3 separate regions of the Homo sapiens genome follow, and all the other regions are linked to region 3. Evidence: promoter capture Hi-C in 16 types of primary human blood cells and fetal thymus (Javierre and others, 2016). All regions are on one chromosome and are shown on one strand. Each heading gives the region's core, a stretch centred on a gene start or on the middle of the fragment in contact. The rest is flanking DNA. Distances are from core to core; before and after follow the strand shown. Region 1 overlaps PLRG1 (pleiotropic regulator 1). Region 2 overlaps SAP30 (Sin3A associated protein 30). Region 3 holds the start of SCLT1 (sodium channel and clathrin linker 1).

Evidence for each region. The method cuts DNA at HindIII sites, captures the fragments that hold promoters and counts their contacts. A CHiCAGO score of 5 or more calls a contact.
Region 1: a fragment that was not itself captured here is called in contact with the fragment with the promoter of SCLT1 in region 3 in 2 of 17 cell types (total CD4 T cells and non-activated CD4 T cells); the score reaches 7.0 in total CD4 T cells.
Region 2: a fragment that was not itself captured here is called in contact with the fragment with the promoter of SCLT1 in region 3 in 1 of 17 cell types (non-activated CD4 T cells); the score reaches 5.5 in non-activated CD4 T cells.

Annotation. Positions count from the first base shown.
Region 1 is chr4:154,545,791-154,550,028 of GRCh38, forward strand. PLRG1 (pleiotropic regulator 1) reads right to left here. Exons shown (of 15, transcript NM_002669.4): 2 at 3,039-3,145; 3 at 1,921-2,063; 4 at 1,221-1,274; 5 at 333-423; 6 at 46-133. Among named protein-coding and RNA genes, the nearest start is that of PLRG1, 2.5 kb to the right of the region's middle. The HindIII fragment of the contact is 1,110 bases long and covers 927-2,036 here.
Region 2 is chr4:173,371,694-173,376,369 of GRCh38, forward strand. SAP30 (Sin3A associated protein 30) reads left to right here. Exons shown (of 4, transcript NM_003864.4): 2 at 1,697-1,822; 3 at 2,246-2,344. Among named protein-coding and RNA genes, the nearest start is that of SAP30, 3.1 kb to the left of the region's middle. RefSeq lists enhancers at 1-368, 72-371. The HindIII fragment of the contact is 172 bases long and covers 3,007-3,178 here.
Region 3 is chr4:129,091,873-129,096,083 of GRCh38, forward strand. It overlaps SCLT1 (sodium channel and clathrin linker 1), which reads right to left and starts at 1,667. Exons shown (of 21, transcript NM_144643.4): 1 at 1,198-1,667. The coding sequence starts at 1,231. It also overlaps a transcript of C4orf33 not described here. RefSeq lists an enhancer at 1,362-1,931. The HindIII fragment of the contact is 3,346 bases long and covers 1-2,296 here.

The DNA.
Region 1 (4,238 bases), core at 232-2,731, about 25 Mb after region 3:
TGTTCCAAAAGTTAGAAACCTGCTATTTGATGCAGAAAAACTTACTGAATTCATCGCTGTAGGCTGTGGACGGTCAGAAGCCCCAGGATGTCGGTATTCACTTCCACTAGGGGCAGTACGATTTGCATCAGCCCTGGGGCAAAAGAAATAATATTTTCAAAGTAATTAATGCCTCCAGTCATGTATTCTGCAAAACTAACCCTTTATTTTAAATTGTTATAAAGTCCTGATAAAGGAAAATGTCATATAATAGTTATAAAGAAATTTTAAAAAGAAAAAATGTGAACAGTGAAATATGCTTTTAAGATCTTTGTAATTATAATATTTCATACTTGGTCTGCAAAGGTAATGCCACCGCTAAGGACTGTGCAGCTGATTCACTTGGCATTCTCTGGATCTTAGTATCTGCTGTCAAAGCAACCCCTATTAAAATGAAAAATCAACTTCTTTTAGTAGCTGTGTATTATTCATTTACATGCACTTAAAATAAAATGATGAAGGAAAACATACACCAAATGTTTATTATCTCCAGGCAGTGATATTATACAAATTTGATTAAGTTTTGCTCATCTTTGTTTTTAATTTCTACAATAAATACTGCTTAATAACACGTAACTCAAATTTGATTTGATCACAGCCCACATGGTATTAAAGCAGCCCAGAATAGTAAAGTTAATTTCCATTATATTTGGGTATTAGTTTCAAGTCAGTATTAAGCAGTTCCTCAAATACTAACAGAATGTTTCCAAGAGTGGATGTAACTTACTAAAACTAGAAACACCCAATTTCCCTGTACTTTCTTTACATACTAAGCCTTTTGTCCTCTACCCTGTTACACTGGCCACTCCATCTGTGGACCAATGCCTTAATACAGACAGAGGACATGTTTCTCAGATACTGCTTCTAACATTTCCATCATTTTTACAAGCTTAGTGATATTTACATGTCTGCCTAAACCACCAGATAATAAATAACTAGGCCTGCAACAGTTTTACTGTCTTTGAATTCCTAGCACATTGCCTGAAAAATTATACGTACTTAAGAATGTTTGCTGAATGAAGGCATATGAGTATTCATTATTACCTACAAAGCTATGCATGGATGCTTGGCTACTGAGCTTATCTTGCATTTTATAGGCAACAAGAATCTCATTATTGGCTCGTTAGTGAAAATATATGTGACATTTTTAAGACATTTTCAATATATAACAGCTCACTAACCAGGTCCTGGTGGGTATGGATGTGTACCTGCCACAAAGTATTCAACTTCTTGTCCTAAAAAAACACAAAAAAAATCAACAGTAGTGAATTTACCTTATACAAAAGTTATCATCTCTTTAAATGTATCAAGTAATATTAAGTTTTCAACTGGATCTATCAAATTTTCTCAACTAAAGTCAAGCCTCAGAAATAAGGGAAGTTGATCACTTTTGCTTTGATCTCTGTAAACCATGTCCTTGACCATTTGCTATATAGCAATGGTATACAAAGAAGCCCTCCTATCAAGTGACAATCCACTCTGGTATTTCTTCCAAGCAAATGGTTTCCTGTGGAATCTTGAATTCTCTTTACTTATTAAGATTTCAGTATTTAATTTCATCTTTCTGAATTACAGACAAGATAGATGGTGTCCTCACAGGTTAAGAATATTCTCCAATTTTTTCCTTTAATCTCTACTGTGACCTTCTCCACACTCTAAGAATCTCTGCCATCATTATACTACCATTTTTATTTCCTATAAGAAAAAAGTCATCAACAGTATTCCCATGAGGATCAAAACTTCCATTATAATACAGGTACGGCCATTAAATACTGTACGACCACAATAAGTCCTGCCAGGAGGGGCAAAAATAACATATTTTATTTTTCTGTTTTTAAAATTCACATATAAGTCTGACATTTCTGATAATACCATACTCACCTTGATTGGCAGGGTACTGTTTATGAACATATGAATCCGTTGCATTCTGAGGACCCTTCTCTTTAAGATTTTCTTTTGAAGTAGGCATATGCAACACAGGACCATACTCATTACGAAGCTTGATTGCCATTTTTCGTTTGTGACTATTTAGAAATTATAAACATAAGAACGTATCCATAAATACTTTAAAACAAACACTTAGCTTAAGTTTGCCCATTCACGTAGAAAAAGTTTCTAGTATGATTTTAAGTAGTATTTAAAAGAATCAAAAATTTCCAAGGGCATTTCCCCACCATATCTGTTCTTTTGCTTACATTCGACCACACAGCATTCATTAAACCTACGTAATATTTTAGTTTGTTACCTAATAAATAGAAAACCTTTTATGATAAATTGTCAAGGGTCTGACTGAAAGATATACAGAAACTAACATACCCTTTAAGAAACCTCAAAGTCAATATACTTTCCTTCAAAATATAAATATAGTAAAAACTCTATAGCAACCTTTACTAGATGTATCCAAACAGGTTAGTTAGAACTAATCAAAGTACTTAATTGGTTCAATATCTTAAAAAGAAATGCATTTATATTACTTTTAAAAATAGTCTACTTTATAAATTAAATATAAATGCTTGTTTGAGGAGTTAAGTAGATTTTAAAAAGGTAAAGGACAAAGAAGGAACACTGCACATAATGCATTCCCAGACTGGAGCTGGATATGTAGAACCAAAAATATGCCACCACTCAAAAATCTTCATCATACTAACGAGAAAAGATGGGAGTAGAGGTACTAGCCAGGTACAATTTCAGCTCAGCAAGGCTCTGAGAGCAGCGGGAAGCTGAAAGCACATACAAAGTGATTGATTATAAAATAAAATACCTAAAAGGGACTCTCTTAATTACTGGGTATTTGTAAAATGCAATTAATTAATGGAACTTTTACTGTAAAAGGCCAAAAAAAAAAGTTAAATCAGCTTAAATTATGCCAAAACACCACTCATTATTGAATAATTAGCCCATGACTAGCTTATCTTTAAAGGACTCCCTCTCCCTGCTCTCTTCCCCTAGTATTAGAATGTTAAGTATTTTAGCAATTGAAAAAAAAAAACTACACCAACCTCTCTTCATCTAAAGGCACAGGTTTTCCATTATCAGCTACAAACATGTCATGGGTCCTCTTCAACGACCTGAACACAAGGGTGTGTACAGAATGTTTCTGTACCTCCTAAAAAAAAAGAATGTAATTACACACCTATCTACAAATTACACAAATCATAACCTAAAGTCAGATTGATTATACACTTCACGTGTTTAAATATGTAAAAAGCTTTATACCACTCACCATAGCTACTTGTTGCAAGCTACAGGAGTCAAGTTCAGAGAAGAGGAGGAAGCTCCTCTTTGGCTAGAACCTCAGGTTTAGCAACTGAGTGATGCCGGAGTTTAACTTACTCAATAAATATTTACTGAGCTCCTACTGTGTGTCTGGCAGGTATTGTGCTAGAATCTCACAATAGAATGATAAAAAGGTGGTCATGGTCCCTGTGCTCAAGAGGAAACAGACAAATAAAAAGTAAAATAATTCCACATTTTGATAAGTGCTATGAAGGCAACAAGCAAGGCGCTGAGTCAGGGAATGAAGGACTAAGTATAATTGTGAAAGATTTCACTAAGGTGATATTTAAGCAGAAAGGGAGTTAGCCTTGCACAAAACAGAGGTAAGAACGAACCAGGCTGATGGAAATGTCATGTAAAAAAAAGTTCAGTTAACTGAAATAATACAAGGAGCGCAGTACAGCTGTGTATGGAGGATGAGATGGTGCTTTGTAGCTGCAAGGGTAGACAAGGTCCAGATTAGGTAAGGTCTTTTAGACTATTACAACAGCCTATATTTTGTTCTAGCAACATAGGGTCAGTAAAGGGTTTTAAACAAGAAAGGTATGAACAACTTACGTTTTAAACAGAACAACTTATAGAACAAAATGGAAGCAAGGAAACCAACCAACGGGGAGCTAATGCACCAGTCCAGGTGAAAGATGATGTTGGTCTCAATTAAGGTGGACTGCAGCGGATATGGAGAAGAGTGAATGGAATCAATAAACATGTGGGGTAAGATGGACAAGACCAGCTAACAGCGTTGGCTGTTCATGCCAGGGAAAGATGTAAAGAACGGCAAGTTTTTCTGGGGGTAGAGGTGAAATAAGAGACGACCTGAACGCAAGATAGAGAAGACTACCAATCTTTTAGGGCACAGACTCACTGACACTGCCCCGAGGGCGGCAAGTACCAGTGGTCGATCACCAACAGAGGCCCCGCCT
Region 2 (4,676 bases), core at 1,843-4,342, about 44 Mb after region 3:
GGCTGTCGTTCCCCTCTTCTTTCCCACCCTGGCCCCCAACCTCCCGCTGCCTGCGTCTCTCCCGCGCAGTCTTCCCTCTTCCTTCTCCTCTGCGACCGGGACACGAAACAAAGGGGACCGGCGCACTGAGGGCCCAGAGTAGTTTTCTTGCAGCCCGGCAGCTCTTCTGGAATGGAGGCGCCTTTGTTTTGCTGCCCAAGCTGGTGTTTGGCCCCAGGCGGTACTAAATCCCGTCGTCTAGGAGAAAGCGGAGGACCTTCACGAACAAGGAAGATCCTGTTCTTTTCTGTGTTCCGTCTCCTCCGGAGCGGAGTGAGAGGGAAGCCGAGCTCACCCGCCGCCTGGCAGTGAGCCGGGGTTGTAAACGGCGTTTGCGCTGTCAGCTCCGAGGGCAGCTACTCCGATGGTGGGGAGCACGTAGCCTCTGCGGTTTTGCCATCCCCTTGGCAGCCATCAGGATTTTTTGCACGTCTTTTCGTTTGACCATCTATGAGGTTTTTAGAAACAGCCGTTGCTACTTTTGGGAGATCTGGCTAGCGGTAAATGAATAACATGGTATCGAGAACCTACCACAAGTCCTGCATATTTTTATCTTGCGCTTGGCTTAGAAGTAAATGTAAAAGCCTGTTAGCTCAGTCCGTGTTTGTTTCAAATGCTAGTCTACAGCTCGCAGGAGTATATGTAATTAAAGTTTTTGAAAAGTTTATTTGTGACACTTTTTGCCCGTTTAAACAGTTTTCAGTGTTATCCATGAGAAACTCTTCAGGTGAACTTGCATAATTTCAGATTGTTTTGGAAAAATGTGTTATAGATAAATACATTGATTTAATATTCAGAAAAATGTATAACTGAAATTTAAATATAGTTTTGAAGTCGATGGCTCATTTGTGAAAACGAATGGTTTTGTATCTGGACTATAATTTGGGTATTCAGTTAGAAAGACTGGAAAGCATACATTATATTACTAAAATATGCTGTTCTTTTAAGTAGAGAAAGTACTGTCAAGTAGCAAAACTGTGAGCAACATCATCTTTCCCCTCATCAGTTAAAAATTCAACATGAACTAATTCAGGTCATCCTTACTGCTATCTGTTTGTTTATTTATTTAAGACAAAGTCTCACTCTGTTGCCCAGGCTGGAGTGCAGTGGCGCGATCTCGGCTCACTGCAACCTCCAACCACCAGGTTCAAGTGATTCTCCTGCCATAGCCTCCTGAGTAGCTGGGATTACAGGCTACTGCCACCATGCCCGCCTAATTTTTTGTATTTTTAGTAGAGACGGGATTTCACTATGTTGGCCAGGCTTGTGTGGAACTCCTGAGCTCAAGTGATCCACCCGCCTTGGCCTCCCAAAGTGCTGGGATTACAGGCGTGAACCACCGCGCCCAGCCCCTCACTGCAATTTGATGACAAAACCCAGAGGGTTGGAATTTCTCATTCTCCTCTCCCTCCCTCCCTTACCCCCTTCCCCAGATGGAACCAACCCCTCCTTCCCCATCCACCATCCTTTTAACAGTATTCCAGACATCTTATGTTTTAGCGTATAGGATTTAAACGTATAAATATTCCATTATCTTAACAATGGCCCATCTTGGCTGTCTTTATTTTTAAGAACTCACTGTGGCATATGTGTTTTACTAATACATAGACACATTTTACTGTAATCATAAGCAGTGTGTAAAACTTTTCTGTTTCAGGCAAGGCATCTTTACATATGTGATTATCATAAAAACTTAATTCAGAGTGTTCGAAACAGAAGAAAGAGAAAAGGGAGTGATGATGATGGAGGTGATTCACCTGTTCAAGATATTGATACCCCAGAGGTAGATGGAAGTTTTTTATGCTTAATGTAAATCCTAAGTAGTGCATTCTGAAGCCTTTATAAAAAGATATGAACAATCTTTTAAGTGTTTAAAACATTTGAGAAATCTGAAAATGAAAGCAAAATTAAATATAGCCAGTTGACATGCATTTACACAGTTTGAATTGTTACATTTTAGATTGACAATTTTTGCAGCTCTGTTGTCACATAACTTACTCTTTTTTTGACCTCAGTTTATATTATTTATCCCCAAAAGATTAAATTCTTTAATAATTTATGTTGGATTATATAAATTTTTTAAATTTTTTTTGATTTTGGAAGTAAATTTTATTGTGCTGAAGTTAAAATGTTTGTTATTATACATATCAATGATAAATTTTCAACAAATTGTATGAACTCATTTATACATGTTAATTTTTTCTAGGTTGATTTATACCAATTACAAGTAAATACACTTAGGAGATACAAAAGACACTTCAAGCTACCAACCAGACCAGGACTTAATAAAGCACAACTTGTTGAGGTATATATGAGTTTTAAACTATTTGAACTATCTGCACAACCGAGAGGTTATTAAGTGCTAATGGAAGTTTTAATGTAGTGTATGTAACAGTACATTTTAATTAGAAAGAACAAAGTTAAAAAATCTGTTGTGGAAGAATCTAGTTGTGTAGAAATGTTTGTCTGCCACTTAGGAAATTCCTTTTTGTAATGACTGCTTAGTAGATTGTGTACAGCACCTTCTGATACTGGCTTTCAAAATGTGTTGATTGTTTTTTGAGACAGAATCTCACTCTGTCACCCAGGCTGGAGTGCAGTGGCATGATCTTGGCTCATTGAAACCTCTACCTACCAGGTTCAAGCAATTCTCCAGCCTCAGCCTCCCAAGTACCTGGGACTTCAGGTGTGCACCACCACACCAGGCTAATTTTTGTATAATATTTTTAGTAGAGATAGGGTTTCACCATGTTGGCCAGACTTGTTTCAAACTCCTGACTTCAAGTGATCTGCCCACCTCAGCCTACCAGAGTGCTGGGATTACCAGTGTGAGCCACCGTGCCTGGCCCTCAAAATGTTGAATGAGAGTTTTTTTAATCCTCACTTTAGAAATCTATTAATTTTAAAACTCCGTTTAACCAGTAAACATTTGAGCACCTAATTGAGGCATAATAAAATTAATTAACAAGCTTTAATGTCCTTATTAGAATTTATATTTTAAAGTGGTGGAATAGGCCTACAAATCAGACCCTAAACAGTATTTTTATAATTTGCTGACTTAACTATTTCAAAATTTGTCCTTGTTGATGTTTGTTTTATTAGAGACATCCATGTTTTTTTCACATCTAGAAGAGGCAAAAGCTTTTCTTTTACCCAAGCTTTTACTTGTAGTTTGCTTTGATAGAGGACTTCTAGTCAGTCACTGAGTTGTGAAAAGTTAACGGAGCATGCATATGTTTTCAGGATATAATAGAACCAAGAAATCTGTGCATCTTATTAAGATGTTTATAGATTTATATATATATATTTTAATCATATTTAAAATAAAAATTTTTACTTGCAGCTACTGAGGAGGATTGATTAAGCCTAGGAGTTTGAGTCACCATGGGCAACATAGCAACACTCCATCTCTAAAAAAAGAAAATTTGGCCTACTAGACAAAATAGAAGTGTAGAAATATAAATCAGTTTTCTCATATTCTTTGCATGGATTTAGTAGTTACCCAACATTTTCTAAAATGTGCCTATTGAATAAAATGAAATATGAATAGAAGTTACATTTATTTGGCAGAATGCTTTTTAACATTGTTAAAATCTAATATATTAACTATTTAGCTAAAATTTTTTATCCTTGGTTGGGCAACACAGATCTAATTAATTTTTCTTTAATTTTGATTTAAAAGATCAAGTTCTTTTGGGGTTGTACAATACATTAATGTAACATAAATATAGTTATTGCCCACCATGATGAAATATTTCAATAGGTACTAATGGAGTGAAGGCACCCCTGTTTTGGGACAAATGAGAACCAAAGAACTGATTATTTTAAATGTTATATTTAGGTATAAATTAAACCTGTAATTTTTGATAAACTGACCTTCTAAGAACAGTTATATTATTTCCAGAGCTATTTTCTTTTTTATACATAAGAGATAGCCATGAGTGTTATATTTTACTTAATCAGAAATGCAGATATTAGCAAGTTAAGGAATGTGCAGATGTAGTACATATATTTTAAGAGAGGGGTCCCCAACCCCAGGGCCATGGACTGGTACTGGTTGGTGGCCTGTTAGGAACGGGTCCGCAGAGCAGGAGGTGAGCACCAGCTAGCAAGCATTACTGCCTGAGCTCCGCCTCCTGTCAGATCAGCCACAGAATTAGATTCTCAGAGGAGTCCAAACCCTCTTGTGAAGTGCACATGTGAGGGATCTAGATTGTATGCTTGTTATAAGAATCTAATGCCTGATGATCTGAGGTGGAACAATTTCATACCAAAACCAACTCCGCCACCCTCAATCTGTGCAAAAATTGCCTTCCGTGAAATCTATCTCTGGTGCCAAAAAGGTTGGGGACCACTGTTTTAAGGGAATCCAGGGTTGTATGACTAAGTCTTAAGTCTCTTAATTATTGTGTGGATGAACTTTTTTCTTAAGAAATTTTATTTTCTGGAATCTAAATATGCATGTCAGCACCCCAGGTAAGTCTATTATTCTTCTATTAGTAATTGTAGTATGCATGTTATGTTAGCACAATGAAAAAGCAAGGAAGCAGGTAAACATCCTTCATTGAACATCCCTCTTTCTCCTCTCATTTCCATTCATAATTTTTATTCAGAAAAATTTTCAAGGAACCTTAACC
Region 3 (4,211 bases), core at 417-2,916:
CAGAGGCTGACTGAGTTCTTAACCACTGGTCTATAATGCTACCAAAACGGAACTTACTACCTTTTTCCTAACTTCCCCGTTGCTCAAGCAAAAACTAAGTTGCTCTCTACCTCTTTCTCTCAAATCCCCTGATCTCCAGTCTCCCTGTGCCCAACTTAGTTTACTTCTTACCTGAATGATGACAGTAGACAACTAACTGCACTCTGCTATAATGCATATTCCCCGTAAAAATCAGACCGGGCCTTCTAAACTACAATTTGATCATGCCACTCTCAACTGAATTCCTATAACCCATGCAATGGTCCATACTCCTTAGCACAGAGAAGACAGGGCCCTTCACCATCCAGCCCCTTTCTACGCCTTCAACTGCACTTGCCATTTCCCTATATAAATATTCCAATTCAATTTACATCAATATTACACTCAAACCAGCCGTATTGCAAGTCTTTAACAAAGCATATTCCTAATCCCCTCAGTGTCACAAATATTGTTCTATTTGGGATGCCTAGAGTTTTTCATATAGTAAATTCATATTTGTACTGCACGTTTCAGCCCAATAGCACCTTCCTTGAACATATTTTAATAATAATCGTGTAATAGTTAATATTTGTTTAACACAATGTATCAGATACTATTCTAAATCCTTTACATATTTTAATATTCATTTAATCTTTCCAACAACCCTATGAGACTGTGGCAAAAGAGCCAGCAGTTGCTGTCACTTCAATATATTTTGGAATACATTTCCCTCCCCAAATTAAATTCTTGGAGGTAAAAACTGTCCTGTTTATCTTTGCAGCAGCTGTTCTTCCATAGTGTCTGGTACATAATAGAAACAGGAGTTCAATAAACATCTTTTTAATAAATGGCCAGAGAGCTGTGCCCCTAGATTTTAAATGCACACTTGGAAACTCCTGCTGGCCATTAGCCTTCTAATCTTCAGAGCACGAGAGGAGCATAACAAACATGTTTAGCGTCTAGTAGAATTCTGTGTAAGCTACAAGTACTACCACACGGTTCTGCTTAAATATACACACATCCTCACGTATAACATCAAGGTTTTTTTTTTCCTGCAACTAACTTCTTTAACTCTTTACCAATTTAAATGTACCCAACCAGCATTCAAAAAAGATTTGTCGGTCAACGACGACGATATTAAACATTGTATATGAAGTCTCAAAAAAACATGGAGCTTACTTTGCTCTCTCAGAAAGTCGATTTCTGCAGCCATTTCGATACAATTTTAGTTTAGAGCTTTCACCACCTTTACCTTCCTCTGAAAGACAGAGAGCTTGCTGTGCGGGAAAACAAAACTAAGCCAACGCTCGGTTGGTTGTCAAGCGCTCCAGCGGTGCAATCTGCATCCTACTCACGCGGCATCTACAGCCCCGCCACGCTTCTTTCCCCCGCGCCCCAGACGAGTCCCTGGCCCTGGTGAGAGACTGAAGATTGCTGGGGACTCCACGTTCAACCGAATCCCACGCTGGTGGGAAGAGGACGCGGTCGATACAGGCGTCCCGCGGGTCACTCTGGGTCTCGTCGGGCCACCTAGGAGAGTGCCGCGGGAGCTTGACGGCAGCCTGAGAGCGGCGTTCTACGCGGAGCGGCGGGGGTTGGAGAGGACAACGCCAAGACGGCTGGGAAGCCCCAGGCCAGCAGCGGAAGTCCACTCGGCCCGCCCTGCGACTTTGAAACCGGTGCCCCGGACCACTCCTTGGAGACGGTGGCGCCTCTTGCGTCATCACGCGGGCGTTGGAGCTTACGCCATCGCGCGTCCTAGAGTCCTAGCACGCTATTGGCTGGCTGTCAAGCAATGGGAGGAGTCGTGAGAACCTGGATGACAGCGGGCTGAGCCACCGGCTTGGCGCGGCGGCCAAACTGGTGGGACAGTGTCTCCAGGTAGTGAGGCCCAACCTCTTTAAAACAAACAAACAAACAAACAAAAAACCAAAATGCAAACGTGAGTAGAGAATGAAATACACAGTTTAAATGCCCTCACTATCTTTGGGTTACTAATATACTAAGCCTTTCTGGACTAAGTAAAAGATGCAGGTTCCTGCGGCTAGGGATAGAAGCCAGACTGGCGTCTTCAGAATCTCCCACCAAGGCTGTACCTCTGGAGGAGTTCTAGGTTTGGATTTGGTCATCTCAAGAAGGTAAGTACCTTCTCGGTCTTTGTGGGTCTTTAGACAAAGGAGACAACTGTTGTTTAAATATTTAACTGTGTAGTAATAAAGCGTGTAGTTAGAAGTACTCAAAAGATCTTGCAAATTCAGCAGCTACTTCTTCAAAGATAAGCTTGTTTCCTCAAATATAAGGAAAGATAAAAGGTACTTTTTTTTGCAAAAAACAAAACGGTAAAACTTACATTTGTGGATAGATTACAATTTTCATTTTTGAAAATTAATTTTGTCTGGACTTAAAACGTATTTTTTTAAAAAAAATCATTTAACATTAGAGGAAATCTCACCACTAGCAACAAAAATGTTAACTTGAAGCTAGCCACTAGTTTTGTGCTTTTAATAAATTGTATTTTTATGGACTGAAGTAAAGTTTCACTAAACAGGCATGTCATAGATGCAGCTTGATTTGGCTTTCTGTTTAACGGCTTAAGAGTTTTGTTGTCCCGTACTCATAATGTCATATAAACAAAGTAACCTTAGCGATATGTGTTAAGAAATTTTAAAAATGTATTCAAATATATGCAGTTAGGCATCTGAAGGCCTTACTCAATACTCACTGTTAATAGAATGAGATGGTCCCTTCCTCTAAAGACTAGCTGTTAAATATGGATGTGTAGCTTAATAATCATTGAAAAGGTCTAATCCAGCTTTGAGTTGGTGATAATTGAACTTGTTCTGATTTTTAGTAGCTATAACGTTTACACAAAAACTTTTTGTATAAACGTTATAGCTAAGGGAAAATTGAGTGTGCAAGGTCCAACTCGTTTTTGAAGTTCAGTATATGACTCTTTCTTCATAAACATCTCACTGACTCTCCAAGGACTTGCTTGTAACTTCTCCCACATTTGAACCTTGTATATTGTCGTATTTCTACTTGGCATCAAATAAATAATTATAGACTTAACTCTACGCTTACACCCAAACTGGATGGAAGCAAATACCTTCTGGCTATAACTGATGAGTGGTATTTACATAAAGTGAATATCTCAGGTGAAAACTTTTATGTCTGCACTCGAATTTTTTAGCTTACATGATCATAATTATGATCATGATAGTTTTTTGTTTTTGCGTTTGTGTTTGTGGTTACAAGATTTTAGTAGTTGAATTTTAATGGAGTATTTTCAACATAAGTTTCATCATTAGGAAACAAAATTGTGATGATTTCACTTATCCTTAAAGGATCCCCTCTCATGTTCCTCCTTTTCACATCTCCTGAGTTCTTTATCCACTTCTCCCAAGGTAGGTGCCACCTTAGTACTTACTTCATGCTCCTTCCTGCATTATCTGTCATGTTTTGTAGTTTGTCTCCAGGCTCCATCATAATACCTGGAACACAGAGTTGATTAAATATCTGATGGAAGGAATGAAAGAATTCAGTGGATGTTCATGAAAAGTATCTATTAGTATAAATTGAATACAAGGAATGACAAGCAGAAATGTATGTAGTTTGTGTGTAACTCTTGTCAAGCCACCATTTAATGTTTTTATATGACTTTTCTGCAATAAAGAAAACCCCTAAAGTTGTATAGATTGAAAATTAGTGACATTTCACTAACATTCATTTGGTTGATCAATTGACATTGAGCACCCAGTACTATGTGCAAAGTACCAGGAAGAATACAAAGTTAGAAGTTTAAGCAAGGATCAGAACAGATCACACAGCTGGCAAGTGCCTGAGTTGAGATTTGAACCCAGGCAGTATGGTTCTAATTTCACAATTGTTAACTGCTATGAACATGCCTCCCCAGGAATATAGTATAATATAGTTTATAGCTGGTATAATATAATTTATAGTTTTTGCTTATATGGCCAGTTAGCCTTTAGTTGTATTAAATGAAATATTTCTGTACATGTTATATTGTAATCTTAATGATTTACAGTTGATTTTCAAATTATTGCACAGTATTTATATTTCTGAATCACCCTTCCTTCTTCTAGGAAACCACTCATACTTTAGTGGAACGATTAGAAGTCTTCAGTTGTTCATGTGTGGCCCTTCAACATCTTTCTTTCCTAGAAAAATCAAGC